2 separate regions of the Homo sapiens genome follow, and region 2 is linked to region 1. The links are contacts of gene promoters, found by promoter capture Hi-C in blood cells and fetal thymus (Javierre and others, 2016). All regions are on one chromosome and are shown on one strand. Each heading gives the region's core, a stretch centred on a gene start or on the middle of the fragment in contact. The rest is flanking DNA. Distances are from core to core; before and after follow the strand shown.

The links. The method cuts DNA at HindIII sites, captures the fragments that hold promoters and counts their contacts. A CHiCAGO score of 5 or more calls a contact.
Region 2: the fragment with the promoter of DTX3 here is called in contact with a fragment that was not itself captured in region 1 in 1 of 17 cell types (neutrophils); the score reaches 5.4 in neutrophils.

Annotation. Positions count from the first base shown.
Region 1 is chr12:57,055,840-57,059,484 of GRCh38, reverse strand. It overlaps NEMP1 (nuclear envelope integral membrane protein 1), which reads left to right. Exons shown (of 9, transcript NM_001130963.2): 9 at 1-3,645. Among named protein-coding and RNA genes, the nearest start is that of MYO1A, 7.5 kb to the right of the region's middle. The HindIII fragment of the contact is 2,936 bases long and covers 273-3,208 here.
Region 2 is chr12:57,603,279-57,606,835 of GRCh38, reverse strand. It overlaps DTX3 (deltex E3 ubiquitin ligase 3), which reads right to left and starts at 2,012. Exons shown (of 7, transcript NM_178502.4): 1 at 1,978-2,012; 2 at 1,105-1,265; 3 at 584-646; 4 at 318-393. The coding sequence starts at 318. PIP4K2C (phosphatidylinositol-5-phosphate 4-kinase type 2 gamma) reads right to left here. Exons shown (of 10, transcript NM_024779.5): 10 at 3,418-3,557. RefSeq lists enhancers at 1,618-2,130, 2,131-2,642. The HindIII fragment of the contact is 28,357 bases long and covers 1-3,557 here.

The DNA of each region.
Region 1 (3,645 bases), core at 491-2,990:
ATAGGCTGCAACTTCCAGAGAGAAATCCACAAATCTGAGCCTCCTTCACTCCAGCTTTTATTTCAGTGACTTTAGAATAATTATTGATTTAACTGTTTTGGGAGGAAAATAGATTTTTATTGTTTTGTTTTTTAAATGAATGTCTTTTAAAAAACATAACAAACTCATGTTCCAGAACCAGCAAGTGCTCCAGAGTGACACACCCCCTAGGCCCCTACATATTTATTAATATGGATTATCCATTAAAGCCCCAGGAGCTGTTGTTTTAAGCTTTGATTTAGTTCTCATACATATGATAGAAAGTCCTATTTGCCTTTAGGAACATGCCTGTAGGCTCTTCTGCAGGTGAGATGTACTGGGCTTTTTATTATATTCAACTTTCAATTCCATCTTAAAAAACATTTGTATTCTTCTCTTCCCATTCTTCCTTACCCTGCCTTTGCCCTTTCAGGAAGGGTCAGTTCCCTTACCTGTGAACTATGTATGTTCAGAGTAGCATTATTCCTGCTAGCTAGGAGAAGTCATCTTGTTTAGGGGATTTGGATGCTTTTTATACGTTCTCCATTTTCCTGTCATTGGGTCATGTTATCTTTGAGTTGCTATGAAATCAGGAAACTGTCTCCTTTTCCTTTCCCTTCCTTTGTCTACATGCTCTGTCCATTCCTTTCAGCCTTTTCTCACCACCCATACTCCCCCAAATCTGGGTAATTTTTAAGCCTTGAAACTATGTAGTTTCTTGATACACAATTTGTAGTTATGCAGCAGCCACAATTTGCATTGCCAGGAAATAGGCTCCAGGTTATCTTCATGCCTCTGGGTGCTCATTCAGCTGTCAAGTTTCCATGAACTTACACTTATTTATGATTGCGTTTCTGACCTGAGATGTATGCTGCCTGTTATTGCAGTAGCATTAGTTTCAGATTCTTTTGCCATTGCAAAGTACCCCTTATAAACCAGCAATGTCATCTGTGAGGAAGCAAATTCTCAAGTGTCTGTCATTTACTTGGTTCTTTTTCTTTGTGGTCTTCACCCTTATACCCTGGAAAAGTCTGTAATTACCTTAGCCAGGAAGATAGATGGTCATGGCAAGCGCACAGCACCAGACTTACTGGCTCACCAAGATGATGGAAAAAGGCAGATGATTTTTTAAAAAGCCGTAATGACTCCTTTAGACCAGCCATTTAGCGTGGTAATTTTGAAAGGCCTAGCTCCATTGCAGACTTCCAAAGGGTCAGCTCTGAGACTGCCCTCCAGGTGGGCAGTTGATTATTTCCACCAGTGTTTTCCAGAGCCTTAAACTGTCCTAAGTGACAACTACCTCAGTTGGCAGGAAAGAGACATATAGTAGAAAGTGAAAAATGAGCAGTATTTGGGCAGATGCTATGGGTTACAGTTGAAGGGTAAAAGGAACTTTACATTGGGAAACCTTTATACCCTTGTGAATTATGTACATGGTAAAATGTTCTCTCTCTACAAAGAACTATTAAAACTTCTGAAATATACTATTTTTTACCTTATTTATAGAAATTGAGACCTAGCATATTTAAGCATAAGTTTATTTTAAAAAATAATTCAACTCGTGCAAGTGGTCTCAGGATTCTCTGGAGATTTTGGTGCCTCCCCTACTTAGGGAGGTGATAGCTTGCCTATAAGGGTGACTTTTCCTGATCATGTCTTTATTTCAATGAGAAAGCACTGTGAAATTGTGAAAGATTCTCCTCTTTCTCTGTTTAATAAACCCCCATGAAATATAGTTTCCATCTCTAGACCAGTTTTTTTTCCACCGTGTTTAGACTTGAGGTGAATAAAATCAAACTGTTTTTTACTCCCTATCTGGTAGTTGGAGACCTGAGCTGTAGGCAGTGGAGATGGCAATTGGTTCTGCAGCCTGAGAGTTGCTCTCACACAGTGAAGGACGGTGCTGCTCTGGTGTGCTGTGTGTCCTTGCCCTGCCTGCCTGTGGCTCTGCCCAGATGCTTCAGATCCTCTGTGTTCCGGAGATTGCTTGACTTCAACCTTCTTTAGGAGCTGCTCTTGTCTCCCTCTTGGCCACTTAGTTTGCTGGCTCAGTCACTACTTGAAGACCCCATTTAATTTTTCTCTGGCAGTTATAGCTCTTGTGATTTCAGTACAGTCTCATCTCTCAGACCAATCTCATCAAGAAGGATTGAAGGGATAACTATGAGGTAAGCTGGACATTGGAGCCGTGTTTGCTGCCACGTCAGCGTCTTGCTGGGTGAATGTCAAGCCATAAATGGGCTCCAGGGCTCTGGATCTCATCAGCATTGGAAATCTATTGCCTCTCATCAGTCTGACCAAATTATGTAGAGCATTAATGTAGAGACTCCCATTAATGGGAATACAAGAGGCAGCTGGCATAAAACATTTCTTTCACTTTCCTTTCCCACTCAGATTGCTTCAAGAGACCAACAGAACACAGGGATCAAAAACAAGGAAAATTTAGCAACTTCATTACCTTCTAATAAGTAATTCCTGTTAGCCACTGCATCCCACCAAAACTAGTTTATTTTTCCCCTCAAATTCATGATTTTTACGTCTGTTACAAAGGGAATTTTGCTGATAGCTCTTTGGGTCCCACTGTTCCATTTTATGCTAATAGATTCCATTCTAGGGCCCAGCCGTCTCTTGACTGATGGTGTTCCCTTTAACCCTTGGCATGTATAATAGAATTTTGGTGAATGAAAGAACCCAAATAGGCCAGATAGTCCCCCCAGGCCCTGATATCCATAAAAGGCTTGGGAATGCATTATGTAATTGTCCTTAGTCTTTTTGTTGTTTTAGAAAAAAAAAACAAGATGGGCTCAGATGGATGCCTACGTAAAAATGGTTCCTAGCTGTGTACTCATAACTTTTCTTTGAATTGAGTAGTGAAAGGAAGGAGGAGGAAAGGAAATTAAATGTCCTTCTAGTATTCTCTGGACTCAAGTCTGACATATGAGATAATAACCTATATTGAAATGCCAAGAATTGTATCTGAAACAAGAGAACAGTTTGACACATTTATCATGCCTTCATATTACATATTAACTGAAACCAATTAATAAACATATGAAATATCCATTGCACAAGGCAAAGGCACCTAAACCTTTTGTTTCTTTTTCTACATAGCAGAAATTGATTTTTTTTTTATTTTTTTAGGGGAACCTATATAATTATGACCCAGTGATGTCTTTTGGTGACTTAAGCTTATGAATTCAGGTTACAATTGAGTTGATTCTAGATGGTTACTACCTTGAAAAGGATGTTGGTGCCTTATGTGACACGAGCCAGAGCCTGCTGGGAATAAACAAAGCAGATTCATGCCAACACCAACTCGTAGCTTTAGTGGCAGATGGGAGTGGTCACAGACTCCCAAAATGTGGGGCTTTGGATTTCCACACCATCCCACGTGTGTGTCATCTTCCTCTTTCACACTCTTGATGATAATTTGAAAATGGTGAAATCACCTCTGAATTTGCCTATAGCATGAGCACATTCTTATGACAACATAACAAATAGTTCATAATGTGAATATTAGAAACTGTTACAGCCTGCAGTTACCATAATTTTCCATGTTTGTGGAATTGATATTGAAATAGCAGGGCTAAGGAATTACTGGCAAGTTTTAGCCTGTGGGTAATACCT
Region 2 (3,557 bases), core at 763-3,262, 550 kb before region 1:
GGGGGGTCCCCATTTGACAAGTATCAGTGCCTCCTACTTCAGGTTCCTTCCAAACCCTCTATTACCTCTGTTTTCTCAAAGCCTAATCCCCAACCCTTCACCCAAATTCATATTCTGTCTCCCCTTATCTTCCAAACCCAAAACCCACTGAAGAGCAAAAAAGTTTCCAGAGCTATATTATCATCTAAGCCAAGTATCAGTCTTGTTTCTCCTGTCATTTCTCCCAGATCATAGAAACAACTTGCCCCTCCCACCTCTTGGGGAAAAATGGGCTGTTTAAAGGGGAGGGAGACTCTTTGCCCCTCCTTTTTGCTTACTTTGATCCTGAAGAGCTTAGAATTGGCATGCAGGCTCACTCTTCTTTCCCTGCTCCCTACTTGTAGGTCGTGTGACCTGGTAGGGCGGAAAAATGGAAGGAAAGTGAGAAACCCCTTCTCCCAATTCCCATGGCCCCCAACCCAGCAGCCCATGGAACAGAGACAGAAACCTGGGTATAGGTTACTAAGAATGGCATTACTTGGAACATGGAATGAAGGAAACCAGTTTAAGGGTGAAAATTGAGGATCCCTTGCGGGGGAGATACCTGGAAAGCCCATGGAAGATGATGGCAGCAGAAATCCTTCTATTTCCACTCAGCTGACCAGGACTGGGAGTGGGGGAAGGGTAAAAAGTTATGATGGCAAATGTTACCATTCCCCTCAGCCAACCCAGAAATAAAAACTCCCCTTCCATCTCCTCTCTTCTCTGCAGAATTCCATTATCAGCTTCTCCCCAAGTTGCTCAAGAAGGAACTTCAACATGCTAACCTTCCTCCTTTCTTCCCCAGCTCTGAGGCCCCCAAGAAAGCCTAGGGCACACATAAGAGAAGTCAGGAAAGAAAACGCCCACACAGGTGGAGGTCTTCTTGCCACCTCCCTCAGATCACATGGACCGGAATATTTCCTATGCTCCCCAACTCCTCGCCTGCTCCACATTGCCAAATAATTCAGCCCCTATTGCCAGGGAGCCTTCCTTGAGAGCTAACTCAGTCCCTTCTGCTGAAGTCTGTTAAGGATGTGAACAAAGTGGCAGCAGCCCCTGCAATAACAAAGTTCTCATTGTCACCTTTTAAACCCAGCACAGGCAGTGCTGTCTGTCAGCTCCCAAGTCTGGCATTTAGGGAGGGGCGGGGCTCACACAAGGGCTCAGCTGGAGGGGCCTGATGTTTTCCCTGAGTCTGGTCGCATTGGGCTACGGGGCTGTCTCCACAACACTTCCAAATGCAGCTCAAACAGAAAGAAGGGCCATTAGTGTGACCTCCATTTATTGACTGATCCAAGAAGGAGCAGCTGTCCCTTCATGCCTCCATCATCGTCCCCCAAGGCCAGATGCACCTCGAGATTCATAAGTGAAAATGGAACCCTAGAGTCTCAGCCCATACAGTCTATCCGCGATGCAACACTTCTCTCCCCATCACGGGGGACCCAGGACCTAGGTGTCCTAGGTCCAAGTCCTGCTGGCACAGAAAAGGGAGGCGGGGCCCCAGTTTAGGGTGGGTCTGTGATTCCTCTGTGGCAACCCAGGCCGGACAAGGAACCAGTCTCTCCCTCCAGACAGAGGCCAGAGGGAGGCACAGCCCGGATGGGCAAGGGTCCCTGGGGGCATCCACTGAAGCAGCTCCCGCCCTCCCCCCACGGCCTCCTCCAAGACCCGACCCGGAACCAACTCCCCACATCCCTCAGTAGCCAAAGCCCCCGGATCCCCACCGCCGGGTGGGGGTGCATGTCGGCCCGATCGCAGCCCTCAGAACCCCCGAATGGAGGCCAAGGCTGGAGGGTGCTAGAAAGATGATCGGCCGGGCACGGAGCGGGGAGCCCGGAGCCGCGCGCGGGGAGGGGAGGTGGAGGAGGGGGCGCCGGGGGAGCGGGGGGCGCGTGAGGGGTGCGAGCGGGGCCCGGGGGGCGCGCGGTGGGTGTGGGGGGCGCCGGGCTCACCTACCTCTCGTCAGCGCCGCCATTGCCGGTCACATGACTGAGGCTGTTGCTGGGATGACGGTCCGGGCCTTAGCAACAAGGAGGGGGAGACCCCGAAAGGTGGGGGATTGCAGGGGGTGCAGGCTGAGGAAAAGGGAAGGAGGGAGGACAGCACCCCCTTTCCCCTCACAGGTGATAATCACCGTTCCTTTGACCCCCTTCTATCCGCAAGCCCCTGCCCTTCCTCCCCAAAACAAAAATGGAGGCGCTGTCCCAGTCTTTGGAGGGAGGGGGTGGCGTCATGGAACTGAGGGTAGGAGGTTAAATCCCTGGAGACGCCACCCTACTCGCTCCCCGCTCCCGGCGGAGCACTCTCCCTTTTCTTTCCCAGCCAGCTGCGTAGCAGCTCCCAGGAGCTGGTGGTGGATGGGTGGGTGAAGTGTTGGTGGGTATATGGGGATTCGGGGGGAGGGCGGCAATTTTTTGAATCCTTATGGTAGAAGGGCCTTTGAGGAACAATGTGGGATGGGAAGAGTCATAGTAAAAAGAAAAGCATTGGCTCTAAAAAATAAACAAATCCGGGTACTAAACTATTTCAATCCCCTCCCTCATCTCCTGCCTCTTTCTAGATTGTTACCTCCTATGACCCCCACAACCTGCTCTCAGATGATCATTGGTCAGTGCCTCTGATTTTTCTTTCCACAAACAGGGATATGGAGGCTGGTGCAGAATGGGAAGCGAATACATTTTTTAAAAAGTGGCTCGAGGTGGTGGTGGTGTCAAGTGTATGGTTCAAATAGAGTTAAAAACTCTCAAAGAAGAAAAAAAAAAAGCTCTGCTCTGCTTCCCACATCAAGCAGTCTCCGCCCAATCCAACTCACTTCCCTGGGGCCACATCAAGCCAGGTTTTTCCACCAGCCAAAAGACTTCCTCAGCCAAGACAGGCAGGAATCTCCCAAACTGGCAACAACCTCTATTCATCCACCCCTTTTTCACTCCCCCCTCTAGACTGGAGGGCTAGTCACTTTCTTCACTTTCCCAGGACCCTGCTGTACTCTTCCTTCCCTCCAGGAAGAGGACAGCTTTCCCAGGAAGCCTGGGGGAATACTAGATTCCTTTTCTTTTAGCTGGTGGGCTGAGAGGCCTACTCACCTTTACAAAGATGGAGTGTTAGCAAGCCCAGAACTCTGGGAAGAGGAAGGGTCCCATCACCCTACTCTTCCCTGGCCCTCACTACCGCTGACCTCCCACAAGGTTAAAGACTAAGTTTTCCATTCCCGTGCACACCCTTCACAGCCTTTTTAAAAAAGTTCACAGCCATCTGTCTAGAAACCCACATCCTTAGTTAGGGGCCCAACACCTTGAACACCAGAATTCTTCAGCTGGTCTCTGCACCCTTAAACACAGGCTCCCTGAGAGAAGTGAAATTTAAAAAAAAAAAAAAAAAGGCATTTCTGTACAGAAATTTGGATTGAATAATTTATTCCCTGTATTATTATAGTAACAGGAGCAAATACATAAATTTTTATTAATAAAACAAAAAAGATGAAAAACAGAAGCAACAAATGAAGACATCCATACTGCCCATAACACATCAGCCATATG